Regions from separate parts of the Homo sapiens genome. Here regions 2 and 3 are each linked to region 1. Evidence: promoter capture Hi-C in human tissues and cell types (Jung and others, 2019). All regions are on one chromosome and are shown on one strand. Each heading gives the region's core, a stretch centred on a gene start or on the middle of the fragment in contact. The rest is flanking DNA. Distances are from core to core; before and after follow the strand shown.

Region 1 (4,577 bases), core at 2,078-4,577:
GGAGAATGGCTTGAACCTGGGAAGTAGAGGTTGCAGTGAGCCGAGATCACACCACTGTACTCTAGCCTGGGCAACGAGAGTGAAACTCCATCTCAAAAAAAAAAAAAAAAAAAAGTGAGGAGGGCTCACAGTGTGGCAAGTGCTTCAAAATACAAGGAAGCCAAAAGGACAACCACTGGATATGGTAACATCAATCACTGGAGACCCTGGCGATTTTAGCAGAGTAAAGAAGACAGAAGACAGATTGGAGTATGCCAAGGAGGGAATAGGATGTAAGAAAGCAAAGACACTGAGACAATACTCTGGATAAGTTTTGTTGTGAAGAGGCAGAGAAAATGGCACAGCGGATGGCTGGGAGGCAAAGGATCAACAAAGAAGGGTATAACTGCAGAAACAAGTGCTCGTATTATAACTTTACACTCCACTGAAATTAGTTTTTTCAAACTATATGAATTTCTTAAGAGCAGAATTTCCTATTTTCTACCTTTTCTCTGTATCATAGTGTCAGAGGCGTTTGAACCAGAGCAACTCCATCTTCAGTAGGGGTTTGGTAAAATAAGGCTAAGACCTACTGGGCTACATTCCCAGTAAGTTAAGGCAGTCTTAATCACAGAATGAAATAGGAAGTCAGCACAAAATGCAGGACACAAAAACCCTGCTAATAAAACAGGTAGGTTATAGTAAAGAAGCTGACCAGCTGGGTGCGGTGGCTCATGCCTGTAATCCCAGCGCTTTGGGAGGCTGAGGCGGGCAGATCACCTGAGGTTGGGAGTTCGAGATCAGCCTGACCAACATGGAGAAACCCCCTCTCTACTAAAAATACAAAATTAGCCGGGCGTGGTGGTGCATGCCTGTAATCCCAGCTACTCAGCGGGCTGAGGCAGGAGAATGGCTTGAACCCGGGAGGTAGATGTTGCAGTGAGCCAAGACCCCACCATTGCACTCCAGCCTGGGCAATAAGAGCGAAACTCCACCTCAAATAATAATAATAGTAACAATAATAATGAAAATAAAATAAGTCCCTGTCAAATTTAGACACTGCGAACATCTTCTCCTAGACTGTCACCTTCCTGTGAGCTTTACCTGTGATGTTCTTAAAAAAAGGAGCTGGCCAAACCCCACTAAAACTAAGATGGCAATGACAGTAACCTCTGATTGTCCTCACTGCTACACTCCCACCAGCACCCCAAGAGTTTACAGATGCCATGGCAACGTCAGGAAGTTACCCTATATGGTCTGAAATGGGGAAGCATGAATAATCCACTTCCTGTTTAGGATATAATCAAGAAATAACCATAAAAATGGGCAACCAGCAGCCCTTGGGGCTGCTCTGCCTATGGAGTAGCCATTCTTTATTCCTTTACTTTCTTAATAAACTTGCTTTTACTTTACTCTGTGGATTCCACTGAAATTCTTTCTTGCACGAGATCCAAGAACCATCTCTTGGGGTCTGGATTGGGACCCCTTTCCGGTAACAGCAGGTTCTCAGTATCTGTTTGTGGAATGCCTAGAACCTAAACTCTTTAAGTCCTAGTCCGAGAAATGCAGTAGAGTGGAATGAGAACTTGAAATTAGACTCAAGTTTAAAAATCAGATTTTTCACTAACAAGCTATGTAGCCTTAGACAAATTACTTTCTCTCTCAGAACGTCTGTTTTCTTATGGGCATAAAATATTTATTTTGCTAGAGTGCTGTGTCAGTTAAATGAGCACTTGCTACAGTGTGACTCAGAGGGTACTCAAATAATTTTCGACATTATTGGTTATTATTTCCAGTGGTAGGCAAATTATAATCATGGGTAAGCCACACATAAGTACATGTAAGCACATACACTGGAGAGAATTTAAATTGAGTTTTAAGCATTTCACAATACCTCTAAAAAATGAGTATATATAAAAATGCAAAGCAAAAAAATATTCAGACCTGACAAATGGTCTTGAAAGACTAGAAGCATACACTACAGTTTTAGATTTCATTAGCGTATCATTTAACTGAGGGGTTATAAATGTGATGGAAAATAAAATAAACACAACATAGAGGAGGAAAAACAAAGATTACAGGGAATTTTCTCAGACAATAAAATGAGCCAGGTATAGAATATAAGACCTTTAAATTCGGGTCTAGACTACTGGTAGTTTATCCCCAAAGAAAATCACCTTTGGTCTGTTTCTAATTTGGCTCTCGAATTCTACTTTCCCATACATGACTGAATTTCCAAATAGTAGCCACTGATCCATTACAAATGTAAATCACATCATTAAACTTGCATATTCCCCACTCCCCACAAAGGCTTCCCACTGTACTTGAAATAAGTGCTAGCTTTATGTCCAACAGCCCCAACTGGCAACAACCAAAATGTCCATCAACATGGCCAGTGGCTACCATATTAGATCACTATGTGGCTGACTGTCATATAGGTCTCAGCAATAATGTCATCTCCTCAGAAGCCTTCTAAAACCAATCTAAAGTAGCGCTCTGCCCCCAGCACATTGCTATTTTTTTTGGAGCACATATCGCATTATCTTAAATTATTTTATTTGTTCTCCTATTTGTATTCTATTATAATGCAAGCACCAGGAAAACTGGTGTCTTTTGTTCAATACTGCTATCACCAGTGGCTAAAACGGTGCCTGGCACAAAGTAGACAATCAATAATTATACAGTGAATACATAAACACACAACTTTCCAAATCTTTAATTACATGTTTTACAGCAGTAAACCTTGGGTGGACAAAGATACTATAATCTCAAATGACTTACCACTGGCATGCAGAAAGTTAACATATCAGGCTACTTCCTCCAAGAGGCTTTCATTGACACCCCCAGCCTGAGCTGTCTCTCATATAATTGTTTAGCATCCAGTACTTCCTCTCATCATAACTATTATATTGTAACTAAGTTACTTGTTTGTATCTCCCTCTGAACTGTTTCTTGACTGAAATAAATATGTCAACTGTTTGAATACTTTCTTCACCCGTAAGTCAGTACTTCATTTTTCTAAACCAAAGCATAGAAGAGCTGGGAAGCAATTAAGGCGCAGTAATCTAGAGGTCATATTATGCAAGGGATATGCTGTGGCTATTAGCAACAGATTCCATTGGCTTATGAGGCACTGCCTGAAGCTTCCAGGGAAACATACAGGGGAAACAGTCCAGAGGATTCAGGATGGTCTGGTACGACTCTGGACTAGCTCTATTTGGAAGGTCCAGTCCCTACACTGACCCCAGAATGACACCATAATGCAGCCCTCTCTGACATATTTGTAACTCTGCTTGCCACATAATCAGTATCCTCATCTCTTAGCACATGGTAATAACATTGTCTTTAACATAAAAGTGTACCTATTTGCAGTCACTACCTCTATCACCACCACCAGCAGAGCCTGAGCTGAGGAAACCACGGTTCTCAATACCCAGCACACCCACTTCCAACTATCTGTTAAAACATGGTGGATTACTATGAAGTTCTAGGACTGCAAAGATATGCTTCACCTGAGGACATTAAAAAAGCTTATCATAAAGTGGCACTTAAATGGCACCCTGATAAAAATCCAGAAAATAAAGAAGAAGCAGAGAGAAAATTCAAAGAAGTAGCTGAGGCATACGAGGTATTATCAAATGATGAGAAACGGGACATTTATGATAAATATGGCACAGAAGGATTAAACGGAGGTGGAAGTCATTTTGATGATGAATGTGAGTACGGCTTCACATTCCATAAGCCAGATGATGTTTTTAAAGAAATTTTTCATGAAAGGGATCCATTTTCTTTTCACTTCTTTGAAGACTCGCTTGAGGACCTGTTAAATCGTCCAGGAAGCTCCTATGGAAACAGAAACAGAGATGCAGGATACTTTTTCTCCACTGCCAGTGAATATCCAATTTTTGAGAAATTTTCTTCATATGATACAGGATATACATCACAGGGTTCATTGGGGCATGAAGGCCTTACTTCTTTCTCTTCCCTGGCTTTTGATAATAGTGGGATGGACAACTACATATCTGTTACAACTTCAGACAAAATCGTTAATGGCAGAAATATTAATACAAAGAAAATTATTGAAAGTGATCAAGAAAGAGAAGCTGAAGATAATGGAGAGTTGACATTTTTTCTTGTAAATAGTGTGGCCAATGAAGAGGGCTTTGCAAAAGAATGCAGCTGGAGAACACAGTCATTCAACAACTATTCACCAAATTCTCACAGCTCCAAACATGTATCTCAATATACTTTCGTGGACAATGATGAGGGAGGTATATCTTGGGTTACCAGCAACAGAGATCCCCCTATTTTCTCAGCAGGAGTCAAAGAGGGTGGTAAGAGGAAAAAAAAGAAGCGTAAAGAGGTGCAAAAGAAGTCTACCAAAAGGAATTGTTAAATTGACTCTTCAAATATATAACATTTGAACACAATTGTGTGTGTTTTGGTTAATCACAAATTTTGTAGATAACACTTAATACTATACTAAGAGCTTTTCAACACTTTTAGCAGGATTGTGGACATTTGGTTAGTAGTTTTTTTGAATGGGTATGTCAGAAAAGGATGAGTTTGTGGTGACAGTTGGTGCTAATAAGAATTTG
Region 2 (4,501 bases), core at 171-2,670, 280 kb after region 1:
CCTCCTGGAAAACCTGAAAATCATGTTGAAGCTAAACCCATATGCAAAGACCATGCTCTGCAACACCAGGCTTTGCCAGGCCAGCAACCACAAACTCCAGGTGGATAAGGCAGCGGCGGCGGTGGCAGCAGCAGCAGCAGCACCAGCACCAGCACCAGCAGCACCAGCAGCACCAGCAGCACTAGAGGCCAAATCAGATGAGAAAGGGGGTTGCAGTCAAGAAGCCTGTGGTAGGGAAGAAAGGAAAGAAGGTTGTTGTTTTTAAGCAGGAGAAACCTCTGGTGGGAAAAAGGGCAGCAGCTACCAACCAAGACATCAGTAGCTGAAAAAAAAACCTACCACAGAGGAAACGAAGCCTGCTGCATGAGCTTGTTGGTTTATTCCATAAAGGTCAAATAATTTTGGACAGCTTATTTTTAATAAAGACCTGATCAGTGAAAAAAACAGTGATTGCTCATGGCAGGAAGCTTTTTGAACAAATCCTTCAGAGCTTTAGTATGTAATCTCTGAATTATTCCAGGGGAATTAGGCCATATTTTCTCAGTTGGGAGAGTAAGGTATTTTCCTGAAGATTCTGAGGGCGTTTGCCATTATGAATGTGTTTTGGTAGGGTTTAACTTCTAAAATTAAGAGTAGTTGAATGGCTAGAGTGGTTTAGTGGTTAAAGAAGATTGGCATTATTCCTTTAGTAATCTTTGTATCTTCATGGTTGATGGAAATAATACAATTTGTGCTTCGCATTCCAGTGATGCCTGGTTATTGTTTGTACTGTTCTTTCTTTCCTTCTTTTTTTTTTTTTTGAAGAGCAAATGATGTATTTGTTTGGCAGATCAATAAGATTTTATTAGGTATGTAATTCAACTTGTTGTAGCTTGTTTCACTTGAGCCTAGTAAGGACTTTGATGGAGATAAAAAAAAATAATTACTCTCAACTTCCACCTACCATTTTATCAGTCTCTAGGGCAATGTTTCTCAACATTTTTGGCTGTGGTTCATCGTTCAAGATGTATTTTACATTCAGACCCAATACACACGTAAGTATATCGATATCTAAAACAAAAGTTTCATGAAATAATACTTACCCTTATTAGGTGCAGTGCAATCTGCTCGTTTCTATTTTATTCCATTTTATTTAATTGCAAGATGTTGATGTTGGCCTAGGAAATTGATTCTGTGACCTGTGTATTATGAATTGCAGTTAAAAATACTGTGTTAGGATATATGTTCATGAAATTTTAACTCAGGCTTTAAAATATATCCCAAGTCTTACTATATCTCTCTGCTCAACTATTGCCCTTGGCTAAGCCACCTTCATCTCTCTCCTAGACTTCTCCAGTAGCCTCCTAATTGCATTCTCTGCTAACTCTCATCCCCTGCCATCACCTAGCTCTGTTCTTTTAGCTGTCTAATTGATGCTTTTAAAATGTTATTCTGGTCATGTTGTCTTCACTATTACTTTCTTTCCCCCACTTTCATTTATTGTGTTAAAATACACATGAAATTTACCATCTTAATCATTTTAAGTATATAGTTCAGTGGTATTATATACATTCATAATGTTATGCAACTGTCATCACCATCCATCTCCAGAACTCTTTTCAGCTTGTGAAACGGAAACTCTACACCCATTAAACAAATAAGTCCCTATTCCCTCCTCCTCCTTCCCCCTGGAAACTACCCTTCTACTTTGTGTCTATGATTTTGACCTCTCTAGGTACCTCATATAAGTGGAATCATACAGCATATATAACTTTTTGTTATAAATTTAGCCTATGTGATTTTTAAAAAAGTTTATATAATGTTTTACATACAAGTTAAAAATTAAAGTAGTAATCATCGACCTCAGACATCTAGAACAAGTTACACCATGGAGCCTTCCTGCTCAGCAGCATTGAGGCCTGGACTGCCTTGTTTCCTCTTCCCTTCAGATCGGCAGAAGTGATGACTTCTCTGGACTTGTAATATTTTTGTTCTTTGGTAAGTGAATATGAGGAGAGACTTGACTTTTTTGTTTTCTTTTTGAGACCGAGTCTTGTTCTTTTGCCTAGGCTGGAAGTGCAGTGGTGCGATCTTGGCTCACTGCAACCTCCACCTCCCAGGTTCAAGCGATCCTACCACCGCAGACTCTCAGGTAGCTGGGACTACAGGCGTGCGCCACCACGCCCAGCTAATTTTTTGTATTTTTAGTAGAGATGGGGTTTCACTATGTTGGCTAGGCCGGTCCTAAACTCCTGACCTCAAGTGATCCACCCCCCTCAGCCTCCCAAAGTGCTGGGATTAAGGCTTGAGCCACTGTGCCCAGCTCAAGAGACTTGGCTTTTTTTTTTTTTTTTTTTGAGACAGAGTCTCACTCTTGTTGCCCAGGTTGGAGTGCAATGGTGCGATTTTGGCTCACCACAACCTCTGCCTCCTGGGTGATTCTCCTGCTACGGTCTCCCGAGTAGCTGGGATTACAGGCATGTGCCACCACACCCGGCTAATTTTGCATTTTTAGTAGAGACAGGTTTTCTCCATGTTGGTCAAGCTGGTCTCAAACTCCCAACCTCAGGTGATCCTCCTGCCTCAGCCTCCCAAAGTGCTGGGATTATAGGCGCAAGCCACCACGCCTGCCTGAGACTTAGCATTTTGAAAGACAAGATAACGTGCTGAGCCAGACAGCTCAGAATCCTCCGCATCTATTTTATTATTGGCTTTTGGAAAAGGCACTATGGTTGTATGTATGGAAAGGCTGACTTGGGAGTCATGATGTCTGGGTTTTCCTGGCTTTGCCACTTACTTATTTGGAGACCTTGGGCAAATTGCTTACAACCCTTCTGAGCTTTAGTTTCTTAGCATCGGAAACCATTGGACACTTTAGATTTCTTCAAATCCTAAAATTCAGAAATTCTATCATGTTTTTGACAAGGTTTTGAGACCTTACAAGAGTCTGTTTTTCTGTTCTGCCATCCTGATTTTTTTCCCATCTACTGTAATCTGAATGCTTAGAAGAAGGACAGTAAATTTTAATCTGTCACACTCGATTATTGTGATGAAATAATCCCAGAATTGTGATTATAAAATAGTCTGGACATACAAAGTACTATGCAGATGACAAATACTATATATACCACATGGGGATGAAAACTGGAGATGAGCACCTCGTCCTGTGCACTTTCTGTGAACTGCTCTGTGCTTATGATCTTATGATCCACCTAGAGTAGTGGTCTCCAACATTTTTGGCACCAGGGACCAGTTTCGTGGAAGAAAGTTTTTCCATGGACTGAGGCAGGGGGGCAAGGTTTTGGGATGAAGCTCTTCCACCTCAGATCATCAGGCATTAGATTCTCATAAGAAAGGTGCAACCTAGATCCCTTGTATGTGTATTTTACAGTAGGGCTTGTGCTCCTGTGAGAATCTAATGCTGCCTATGAGAATCTAATGCCACTGCTGATCTGACAGGAGGCAGAGCTCAGGCCGTAATAGTTGCTCCCCACTACTCAGTCCTGCTGTGTGGCCTGGTTCCTAACAGGCCATGGACTGGGGGTTGGGAACCCCTGACCTAGAGAGTCTTTTGATTCTGCTTTACTGTGCTTTCCTTGAATTGCAAGTCTGATTACTTGCAACATTCTCTTTGTATTATGTTTTGTGGCTTGAGTGTGCCTAATCCAGCCAGAGGTAAAGCTGGGGAATTGTCCTCTTCTTTGGTCTTGAGGCACTTCTGCAGGAAAATTTAGCTTTAGAAAAGATAAGGTTACCAAAGTTCTGACTGCCTAGTTTGTGAGCTGGGCCCCTAGTGTCATCATAGGGAGCTATGGTTTCATTATTACACATTTTGTTTTTCACTAAATATCATAGTTTTTTTCTCTGAAATGCTAATGAGCTGTCATGTGGCTATATTTGCCTTCAAGTTACTGGGAGGATTGATAGTGTCTGTTACAGGCAAAACAAAGCTCTGTTTTTTTTAATCAGGGAAGAATATTAGTAATAGAGCTCTTGTGTAGCTCTCAGGCTTTTCAGGCTCTTTCATAGCTCCATTTGTTAAAGACTTTTTACTTTATTTTGCCTCATTTGGCAAAAGACATGGATGTGCTCTAAATCTATTAGCTGCTTCACTCCAGTGAGACTCTTAGCATTGCAGTACCTGAGGGCACTGTTCAGCTCACCCCTGTGTACTCCTGGCCAGATTGCCATCAGCCTTTTTTTCATACAGAAAGAACCATAATGTGCATACTCTGTTTCTATAACATAATGAACTGAGTTCTGGGCAACTTTAATTGTAACCTTAAAGGAGCTAATGGTATTCATATGTTAGGTAGGTTTACCTTGATTTTTGAACAAACAGTGCAGTTTCCCAGGGAATCAAAGTTAGACTGCTTTACATTGTAGAGAAGGGTGTGTGTGTGTGTGTGTGTGTGTGTGTGTATGTGTGTATAAAGTTAAAACCTTCGTCTGTGGCTGTATGGAAGGAAGTAACCTTGGGAAGTTTTTTTTTAGACTATGAATAAGAGCAAATTGATGAATT
Region 3 (4,240 bases), core at 153-2,652, 400 kb before region 1:
CCATTTCTGACCCAGTCTCTGGCAGAGCCTCCTCTCTGACCATTTCTCCTGGTGGGGTGAGGGAATGTAGCTCTCCCCAGCCCAGGAGGTTTCCAGGAGAGCTTCAAATCACCCTGTCAAAGCTGATCCTGGCCGTGGCTTAGAGATGGCCACCTCCATCTGCCAGTCACCACCAGAAACCCTGGAGGCATTTGTGGTTCCTCCCTCCCTCCTCCTGCACGAACAGGGAACCAACAGCTTCTGCATGTCCCCTGCTCCATGAACAGGCAGCTCCTCTCCCACACTTGTCACACCGGCTGGCAGGTCCCCTCTGTTGCCAGTGTCGCTGCCTCACACTCCTGGGTGGGCACTCCAGCCCCCCTTTCTGTGCATCTGCTCACCTCAGGTCTGGGGATATTAATTCCATATCCCTCAGCCACCTCAAAGCCCACTGCTCTCAGGCTGAGGCTCACAGTCCTTGGCCTGGCATTCAAGGCTCTTGCCTGATCTGACCCCTCACTTCCCTTCCACCCAAAGCCCATGCCACGGCTTCTTCTGGAGCCTACCCACAGCTTTCCTCCAGGCTCACAGCCTGCTGCTTCATGCTTATGTCTCTCTGCTCCTGTTTTTTCAGCTGCCTGGAGTCTTTTCATGTTGACTAGCTGATTCTCATCCAGACTAAGTCCAAATGCCACCTCTTACAAGGAGCCTTCCCGGGCCACTCCAGGCATACGCATCCCCCACTCTCCAGCTGTTAGGAGCCCTTTGCAGGGTTTCCAGTCTTAAGAATACTGAAATGGTTTGTGTCTGTGTTGGTTCTGCACCAGCCGGGGTGTCCTTGGAAGGCAGAGCTGGGCCTGGCACAGAAGCAGCACCCAGCACAGAAGCTGGGTGTCTATGAAACTGACACGAGCTTCCTCTGTGCCCAGATCTCACTAGGGGAAGGACTCATCACAGCTGGGGCTCAGCTGGTGGAGCTGGACTTAAGCGACAACGCATTCGGGCCCGACGGTGTGCAAGGCTTCGAGGCCCTGCTCAAGAGCTCAGCCTGCTTCACCCTGCAGGAACTCAAGCTCAACAACTGTGGCATGGGCATTGGCGGCGGCAAGGTGGGTGTGGCAGCCCCCTCCCCGCAGAGTCCCCTGGTCCATCCACATCCGTCTGACATATGTGCCCTGGCCCTTGGCCACCACCATCTGGGATGGTCAGCCGTTGTTTTCAAAAGAGAAAGGCCTCAAAGGCAACAGCCTGTGGCCGGAGGGTAGAGGCGTCCATGAGGGTGGGGTTGCCAAGCAACCATCCCCAGTTCTTGGGTTGGCTTGGCAACGCAGAGGGAGTGCCACTGCATACCTGCTCCAGCCTGCTGGCTCTGCAAAACTCAGGGCTTGGGGCATCCCTATACTCACTGTACCCGCAGAGCAGCTGGTAGAGCCTGGCACATAGGCAGAGGGAGTCTGAAAAGAGGAGCATATGCTCAGGGGGGGCACCGTCACAGCTCACCTTTATTCCTAGACAGGGCCTTGCCCAGGGAGGTGTCCTCAGGCAAGGTCAGTGTAGAGCTTCACGTTGGGCTGGTCAGTGTAGAGTGGAGCTTCTTTGCTTCCCAGAACCTGCATCAAGGGCGGCCTGCCGTATTATTCTCTTCCAACTCCATCCCAGTGCCTTTAGACCCAGGGTTGGAGGACACTGAGTGCCAGGCTGCAACCCCTACACACACTTTCTAACCAAAGGGAGAAAAGGGCTGGGGACACAGAAGTAACAGCAGTTGGGGATATCTTATTTGAATATGCAATACCTTAACTTTTCCCACCCACACTGAAAGGTGGCTGATGCCATCCCAGTTTTTCCACATGACTCAGCATAGGCTTAGAGAGATGGGGTGGAGTGGATCACATAGCTAGTGCTGTGAGGCCCATGGAGCCCCAGGCTGAGGAGCTGGAGTGGCCTCCCCTGCAGAGGGTGCCTGTGTCCCTCGGCCTGACGTGAGGGTGAGCAGGGGCAGGCTCTGTGCCTGCCTTAGCCAGCCCTCCCCCAAGTCCACTTGGGCAATAAGCTATCCCTGTGTTAAGATGTAAAAATGGGCCGGGCACGGTGGTGCAGTGGCTCATGCCTGTAATCCCAGCACTTTGGGAGGCCGAGTCGGGCAGATCACCTGAGGTCAGGCGTTCGAGACCAGCCTGGCCAACATGGTGAAACCCCATCTCTACTAAAAATACAAAAATTAGCTGGGTGTGGTGGCAGGTGCCTGTAGTCCCAGCTATTCGGGAGGCTGAGGCAGGAGAATTGCTCGAACCCGGGAGGTGGAGGTTGCAGTGAGCCGAGATGGCGCCACTGCACTCCAGCCTGGGCAACAAGAGCAAAACTCCGTCTCAAAAAAACAAACAAACAAACAAACAAACAGAAACATATAAAAACGTTTGCGTCAGCACAGAAAGCAGGCGTGGCCCAACCTAGAGTGAGTGGCATACGCTGGGAGAGCCAGAGACTCTATTCTAGCAAAATGCTTCGGTTTTCCTTCCATTACTTCCCTTCTCCTGCCCAGCAGTGCCTGGAAACTGAGGCTCAGGGAGCTTTCCTACTGGCCAGGAGTTGTCTGGCCTGTCCTATACTTGTAATGGGGTGAGTTGGGGAATGAGTTTTGGACCCAGGACCAGAGGGCCTCCTGGGCAGACAGGCCTACCCTGGAGTTTGATTGATGGTTCTCTGTGCCTCCCTGACCACTGATTTGATTAGGTCTCTGGGTCTCGGCCTTGCTGACCTATGCCTCTTGGGAGCTCAGACGCCATGGTCTGGGTGTCTAACCAAGGCCTGCAGGTCCTTTGGAATCTTTTTCTTCTGGGCAGTGTGTTTAGTGTGGTTTCTGTGCCATGCACCATGAGAATAGAAGGGCCCAGAGGAGTTGGTGGGGCAAGAGGCATGGCCCTGTGCTTGAGAACTCTCCATACCCAAGTTGGACTCCTGCAGGAGCTAAGGCCATCACCACGTGGCCTCCAGGGAATCTGGGAGAATGGGGGTGACCTAGCAGTCGGCTGCTGCTGCTGAGTAGCTTCCTCAGAGGCTGGTCTTTGGCAGAAGTTTGATGTCTCTACCCTGAGTGTGTGCGTGATCGTGTGTGCGTGATCCACCATCACCACCGTGGAGTCAGGCAGGTGCTGGCTCTTCTGTTCCTCAAGGATGGCTGTGTGCAGTCTCATGCCAGGAGTTAGGCCAACCCACCCGCCATGTGCGGCTTTGCTAAATACTTACCGGGTGACCTTGGCCAATTCACTCATCTCTCAGAGCCTCAGCTTCCTCATCTGTAAAGTACGGCCAATCCTGCCTGCCTCCCAGGCTGGTGTTGAGGTTGAAACAAGAAAATATGCCAAGGATGCCCAGGCCCTAGCAGGTGCTCTGCAAACATCAGGTGTTCTGCAAATATCACTTCTCTCGGTGCACTCGCTCGTGATTCTTTTATGTCGCATTTACCATGGGCTCTGATTCCCATCGGTCAGTCTCCGTTTTTCAGTGCTTTTCCTAATGGTGTAACCAGGGTAGAAGCTACTTCCTGGCACCACACCAGGGACAGGGCAAGCTGGGTGTTAGGTTTTTACCACCAGCAGGCAAGCTCCTGCTGTGCCTGGCCAGCTTTTAGGCACAGGCAGGTGTCAGACAGGTTCGTCTGGACCGTGGACTTGGCAGCTGGCTCCCTTGGACATTGTGGAACGTGGAAGAGAAGCTGGAAGATTTGGGCTTTGGTCCAGAGTCCACCACTTGTTTATTGACCATAAGAAAGTTTCCGTTCCTCTTACCCTGAGTTTCTTCAGCTGGAAAATGGGAGCCATGATTTTCCCACCTAGCAGAGGGCCTTAGACAGTGAAGTGAGCTGACTAGGAAGTCCTTCCCCTGGACCTGGCTAAAAGTTCATCCACTCCATGTGGTCTCTCCCTTTCCTGAGTAGGGCTTGGTCTCCCCGTCTCGAAAGTGAAGCTAAACCTCTCAGGCTGGTGTGACACAGCATTAGAGATAAAAACCTTGTGTAACTGAAGTGCTGGACATATTTAAGGTGTGACTGTTGAGCTGTTAGCAGTCCTGCGTCCCCTGACCTGCACCGATGGGTGGCGTGGGATGTTGAAGAGCAGTTCAGCAGCAGTGGCCACCCCGCTGGGAGAAGGGGCTCCTGCCCATGACCAGGGCCCCTTGCCTTTCCCCACAGATCCTGGCTGCAGCTCTGACCGAATGTCACCGGAAATCCAGTGCCCAAGGCAAGCCTCTGGCCCTGAAG

The links. Contacts are between HindIII fragments. The study calls those that stand out against the background at their distance.
Region 2: a fragment that was not itself captured here is called in contact with the fragment with the promoter of DNAJB7 in region 1 in 1 of the 25 tissues and cell types used here (dorsolateral prefrontal cortex).
Region 3: a fragment that was not itself captured here is called in contact with the fragment with the promoter of DNAJB7 in region 1 in 1 of the 25 tissues and cell types used here (dorsolateral prefrontal cortex).

What each region holds. Positions count from the first base shown.
Region 1 is chr22:40,860,863-40,865,439 of GRCh38, reverse strand. DNAJB7 (DnaJ heat shock protein family (Hsp40) member B7) reads left to right here and starts at 3,327. Exons shown (of 1, transcript NM_145174.2): 1 at 3,327-4,577. The coding sequence starts at 3,446. The coding sequence ends at 4,375. The region is part of intron 1 of XPNPEP3 (X-prolyl aminopeptidase 3); the gene reads right to left. The HindIII fragment of the contact is 4,259 bases long and covers 956-4,577 here.
Region 2 is chr22:40,582,566-40,587,066 of GRCh38, reverse strand. The region is part of intron 2 of MRTFA (myocardin related transcription factor A); the gene reads left to right. It also overlaps the pseudogene RPL4P6. Among named protein-coding and RNA genes, the nearest start is that of MRTFA, 52 kb to the left of the region's middle. The HindIII fragment of the contact is 5,364 bases long and covers 1-4,102 here.
Region 3 is chr22:41,261,512-41,265,751 of GRCh38, reverse strand. RANGAP1 (Ran GTPase activating protein 1) reads left to right here. Exons shown (of 16, transcript NM_002883.4): 5 at 909-1,088; 6 at 4,172-4,240. Among named protein-coding and RNA genes, the nearest start is that of MIR6889, 11 kb to the right of the region's middle. RefSeq lists an enhancer at 757-1,632. The HindIII fragment of the contact is 7,310 bases long and covers 1-4,240 here.